Regions from separate parts of the Homo sapiens genome. Here region 2 is linked to region 1. The links are contacts of gene promoters, found by promoter capture Hi-C in blood cells and fetal thymus (Javierre and others, 2016). All regions are on one chromosome and are shown on one strand. The core of a region is centred on a gene start or on the middle of the fragment in contact, and the rest is flanking DNA. Distances in the headings are between cores, read along the strand shown.

What was found. Contacts are between HindIII fragments. The CHiCAGO score rates a contact against its expected background, and 5 or more counts as called.
Region 2: a fragment that was not itself captured here is called in contact with the fragment with the promoter of PRKAG2-AS2 in region 1 in 4 of 17 cell types (monocytes, M1 macrophages, M0 macrophages and 1 more); the score reaches 9.7 in monocytes.

What each region holds. Positions count from the first base shown.
Region 1 is chr7:151,804,983-151,807,682 of GRCh38, reverse strand. It overlaps PRKAG2-AS2 (PRKAG2 antisense RNA 2), which reads right to left and starts at 1,345. Exons shown (of 3, transcript NR_171033.1): 1 at 647-1,345; 2 at 48-311. All of the region lies in intron 1 of PRKAG2 (protein kinase AMP-activated non-catalytic subunit gamma 2), which reads left to right. The HindIII fragment of the contact is 22,647 bases long and covers 1-2,700 here.
Region 2 is chr7:151,938,710-151,941,409 of GRCh38, reverse strand. No RefSeq gene overlaps it. Among named protein-coding and RNA genes, the nearest start is that of GALNTL5, 16 kb to the left of the region's middle. The HindIII fragment of the contact is 719 bases long and covers 949-1,667 here.

The sequences.
Region 1 (2,700 bases), core at 96-2,595:
GGAAACGGTTGTGTAGGTTTGGGACATCGCACCCTGCTGGGACTTACCTGTTGGAGAAACTGGGCTTTTGGTGGCAAACGAATCATTCTTCCTACCTCCGTGGCAGCTGTGCATCTACGCTGGGTTCTGGAAGGCGCAGTGCTGGCCATTTCAGCTCGTAGGTTGGGAAGAAGGGGCAGTGTGCCCGATCTGATAGGTGTAACACGCCATGGTGCTTTGGCACCAAGAGGCCAATTGAAACTGGAGAGTTTTAGAGAATAAAGTATGACCGTCACCCACAGCACAGCTGCTTCCTGAAAATTCCACTCCCGCTGCATGAAAAAGCACATGGAGTATTCCAGGATTCTTAATATAGGCATTTTCCCACGTTCTGTAGATTGCTTGTTTTTCTTCCCCTATCCCATGGGTCTGCTGGTGGCTGACTGGCCACTTTTTGGTCAGCTTTATTGAGGTGTGATTTACATATAATGCCCTTTGACTGACAGTATACAATTAGATGGGTTGTCGTAAGTGTGCACAGTCATGTGACCACCGCCACAGTGTGATCTGGAACATTTCCACCACTCCACAAGGTCCCTCTGACCCTTTACAGCCTCTGCCCTTCCCCACCTCCACCTTCAGACTTGAGGGTGGGTCCATGTCTTACCTTTGTGTATCCCATGTCCAGCGCAATTCTGAACCCAGGTGGACACAAGTGATGTTTAAATGAGTACATTAGGAGGCCTGGCTTTTTTTTTTCCCCAGGCTGGAGTGCAATGGTGCGATCTTGGCTCACTTCAACCTCCATCTCCCAGGTTCAAGCGATTCTCGTGGCTCAGCCTCCTGAGTAGCTGGGACTACAGCATGCACCAACACGCCCAGCTAACTTTTTATAGTGTTAGTAGAGACAGGGTTTTGCCATGTTGCCCAGGCTGGTCTTGAGCTCCTGAGCTCAGGTGGTCTGCCCGTCTCCACCTCAAAGTCCTCAGGTTACAGGTGTGAGCCACTGTACCCAGCCAGCTCTGGCATATTTTAAAAATCCTCCCAAGACTCCTTCTGTCTCCTCCCATTGATCCTAAATTTTGAAGGATTGTCCACCCAAGCATTTGTTAATTAGTAATTTCTTCATTTAGTCACTCACTCCTGGTACCAGCCTTCCTGATCAGCCTGAGATAATCAGCGTGACCGAAGTTGATAACATTCCAGCTGAAAGCAGAGACTTGCTGTTCTCGTTTGCCTATGCAGTCACGGGTGAAATGTGCAATTTCCTTTCCGTTCCTTGAGTGCCTGCGAGCACTGCGAGAGCCTCCATTGTTACTTTCTGTTATCTCTCACCCTAGACCAGAAATCGCCAGCCTTCACCACTGGCCTCTGCCTTTTTCTTTTTTCTTTTAATAATAAATGAGGAAGTTAGCCCTTGAGCAATTTAGGAGTTCACCCAAGAGCACCCCAAAAGGCTTGAAGTTTACAGGGATTTTTCTCTGTCCCAAACTGTTTGTTGTTGTCATAGTTGTTGAGACGGAGTCTCGCTCTGTCGCCCAAGCTGGGGTGCAGTGGTGGGATCCTGGCTCACTGCAACCTCCGCTTCCCGGGTTCAAGCGATTCTCCTGCTTCAGCCTCCTGAGTAGCTGGGACTACAGGCGGCCACCACCACGCCCAGCTAATTTTTGTATTTTTAGTAGAGACAGGTTTGGCCAGGCTGGTCTAGAACTCCTGACCTCAGGTGATCAGCCTGCCTTGGCCTCCCAAAATGCTTGGACTATAGGCGTGAGCCACTGTGCCCAGCCTGTCCTAAACTTTGTCACCAAGGATTTGATGTGTCCCTTCATTCTGCCTTCCTGAGCTCCCTTTCACTTGTACGTTGGGGAAGGATCTTGGCAAACCTGAAGGTAAGGTGGAATCTGCCTCTTTCCTCTCATCAAAGCTCTGAGAAGGAAGAATCTGTAGTGTCCCTGGGTTCAGTAATCATAGTATATTGCCTCTAAACTCAGTGAAGCATTTTAAAGTGATAACTCATGTTTTCCAAATGAGTCCCAGGCATCACAGCCATGTCTTTGTTAACTCATATGTGGTTCTATACTTCTATATGTTAACTCATTTTCCAGTAGGAACTCCCATGATTCCCAGTTTTTAGATTAAAAAACAGAGAAATGAAGTAACTTTCCCAGGGTTACATAGTCACAAGATCACCTATTGCTACATAACAAACCACCCCAAAACTTAAAAATATGATTTGAAATCATCTTTCATGGATTTAGGAGTCATCTGGCTCAGCTGAGTTCTCACTGGGGGTTCCTCCTATTTGAAAAGTCAGGTGGCAGCTGAGCCTGGCACATCCTAGAGGCTCCTTCACTCTCACATCACTCCCTGGGGCTGGCCGTGCAGCTGTTTCTCCATCCGTGCAGCCTCTCCACGTGGCTGGCTTGAGCTTCCTCATAACATGGTGGTCTTGGTGCAGATTCCTAACGTGGCAGCTGGTTTCACCCGCGGCAGACATTACAAGAGATCCAGGAGGAACTGCGAGGTTCCTTCTCACCTAACCCAGAAGTCAGGTGGTGTGGTTTCTGCTGCATTTCTGTTGAGCACAGCTGCCCCAACTCAAGGATGGAGGAACAGATTCGCCCACTCAACAGGAGACAGCACATGTATGCAGGGAGGGACCACATTCCTAGTGGCTGTCCTGTGGGCTACTTACCCCATGGAGCCCCTGTGCCTGCCATG
Region 2 (2,700 bases), core at 59-2,558, 130 kb before region 1:
GAGGCAGGGAACCTAGGCCGTTTCACGCTGACTTCCTGGAACTAGACTGAAAGGAAAACCCTCTTTCCATGCCTAAGTAACAAAAGGACCAGAGGCTACTCCCGTTGCAAACCCCCACCTTTTCTGTGCCCCGGAGATGGGAAATTGCAAGTACTTCTGATTGGTTGCTTTCTGCAACCAATCAGATGTTTGAAGAAGAGAGTAACTTTGTAGCTTCATTTCAGCCTCTGATTGGTTGCGGGCCACCTCTTCATTTACATGGGGTGAGCATGAAGTGTGGCCCATGGGAAAGCTCTACGGGGTATTTAGACCTGAGTAGATTCTCTATCCAGGGCCCTTGAACCACTGCTTGGACCCACTCCCACCCTGTGGTGTGTACTTTCCTTTTCAATAAGTCTCTGGTTTTGTTGCTTCATTCTTTCCTTGCTTTGTTTGTATGTTTTGTCCAATTCTTTGTTCAAAATGCCAAGAACCTGGACACCCTCCCCCAGTAACAAAATTATATTAAAAATCCAAGAGCAGAGCTGAGAAACACTGAAGTGGCCCAGGACTGGTGGCCGCTCTCCCAGCATCTCTTGAGTCTCCTCTCTGGGGCCCTGGCTTTCACCTCCCACAGCCCCCACTGGATGCTCCAGCGTGTGCCCACGCCCAGCGCCCCCCACTCCGCCCTGCACCCTCCCGGGCCCTCTTGCTCTGGCTCTCCCTCTTATCTTTCTTCCCTTCTAACTCACTAATCTAATTTTCAATTTGCCAAACAGATTCCCAATAAAAAAATCTTTCTGAGCTAGACAAGACAACTCCTCTGTTGCTGGCAGCCTCATCCATGGGCTGTCCTGAGTCCAGCTCCAGTACTTGGTCCAGGCTGCTCTGGCAGGGACCCAGCCATGAACGGATGCAAAGGAACATGGTTTTCATCTGCGCTTCTCTGATTTCGGATGAAGCTAAGCTTCTCTTCTTGTTTGGTGCTCTTTGGGGTGTCTTCTTCTATGAATTGCCTATCTACATCTTATCCCTTTTTCCACTTTCTGTCTTTTTCCTCTTGATTTGCATGAGTTCCTTGAATTTTCTAGGCACTAGTCCCTTGTCAGCTTTGGATATTGCAAGCGTGTTCTCCCATTCTGTCCTCTGTCTACAGGGATACCTCAGAGATGTTGTGGGTTCAGTCCAGATTACTGCAATAAGGCAAATATTGCAATAAAGTGAGTCACACATTTTTGTGGTTTCCCAGTGCATATAAAAGTTATGTTTCTATACTGTAGTCCATTTAGTGTGCAATAGCATTATGTATAAAATGTACTGTATTAATTAAAAATACTTTATTGCTAAACAATGGTAACAATTATCTGAGCCTTCATGGAGTTGTAATCTTCCTTTGGTGGAGGGTTTTGCCTCGATGTTGGTGGCTGCTGACTGATCAGGGTGGTGGTTCCTGAAGGTTGGGGTGGCTGTGGAATTTCTTAAAATAAGACAGTAATGAAGTTTGCTGTATCCATCGACTCTTCTTTTTTAATTTTTTTCTACCCCTGCCCTTCCCCTGACTCTTCCTTTCACAAAAAGATTTTTCTGTAGCATGTGATGCTGTTTGATAGAATTTTACCCAGAGTAGAACTTCTTTGAAAATTGGAGTCAGTCCTTTCAGACCTTGCCACTGCTTTGTCAGCTAAGCTTATGTAATATTCTAAATGCTTTGTTGTCGTTTTAACAGTGTTCATAGCTTCTTCATCAAGAGTAGTTTCCATGTCAAGAAACCACGTTCTTTGCTCATCCAAAAGAAGCAACTCCTCATCCTTTCAAGTTTGATCATGAAATTGCAGTTCAGTCCCATCTTCTATTTCTCTTGCATTTCCACCACATCTGCAGTGACTTCCTCCACTAAAGTCTTCAACCCCTCAAGGTCATCCATGAAGACTGGAATCAACTTCTTCCAAACTCCTCTTAATGTTATTATTTTGATCTCCTCCCATGAATCACGAATGTTTCTAATGGCATTTAGAATGGTGAATCCTTTCCAGACGTTTTCAATTTTCCTTGCCCAGATCCATCAGAGGAATCACTATCTATGGCAGTTATAGCCTTATTAAATCTATTTCTTAAATAATAAGACTTGAAAGTAGAAATTAGTCCTTGATCCATGGGCAGAGAATGGTGATCGTGTTAGCAGGCAGGGACACGACATTTATCTCCTAGCACATCTCCCTCAGAGCTTATAGGTGACCAAGTGCATTGTCAATGAGCAGTAATATTTTGAAAGGAATCTTTTCTTCTGAGCAGTAGGTCTCAACGGCGGGCTTAAAATATTCAGTAAACCATGCTGTAAGCAGTTGTGTAGTCATTCAGGCTTTGTTGTTCCATTTCTAGAGCACAGGCAGAATAGATTCAGCATAATTCTTAAGGACGCTAAGATTTTCAGAATGGCAAGTGAGCACTGGCTTCAGCTTAAAGACACCAGCTGCATCAGCCCCTAGCAAGAGAGTCAGCCTATCCTTTGAAGCTTTGAAGCCAGACATTGATGTCTTCTCTCTAGCTATGAAAAGTCTTAGATGGCATCTTCTTCCAATAGAAGACTGTTTAGTCTACATTGAAAATTTGTTGTTTAGTGCTCCTGTCTTCATCAATGATCTTAATTAACTAGATCTTCTGGAAAACTTGTTGCAGCTTCTCCATCAACACTTGTTGCTTCATCTTACACTTTTTTATGGA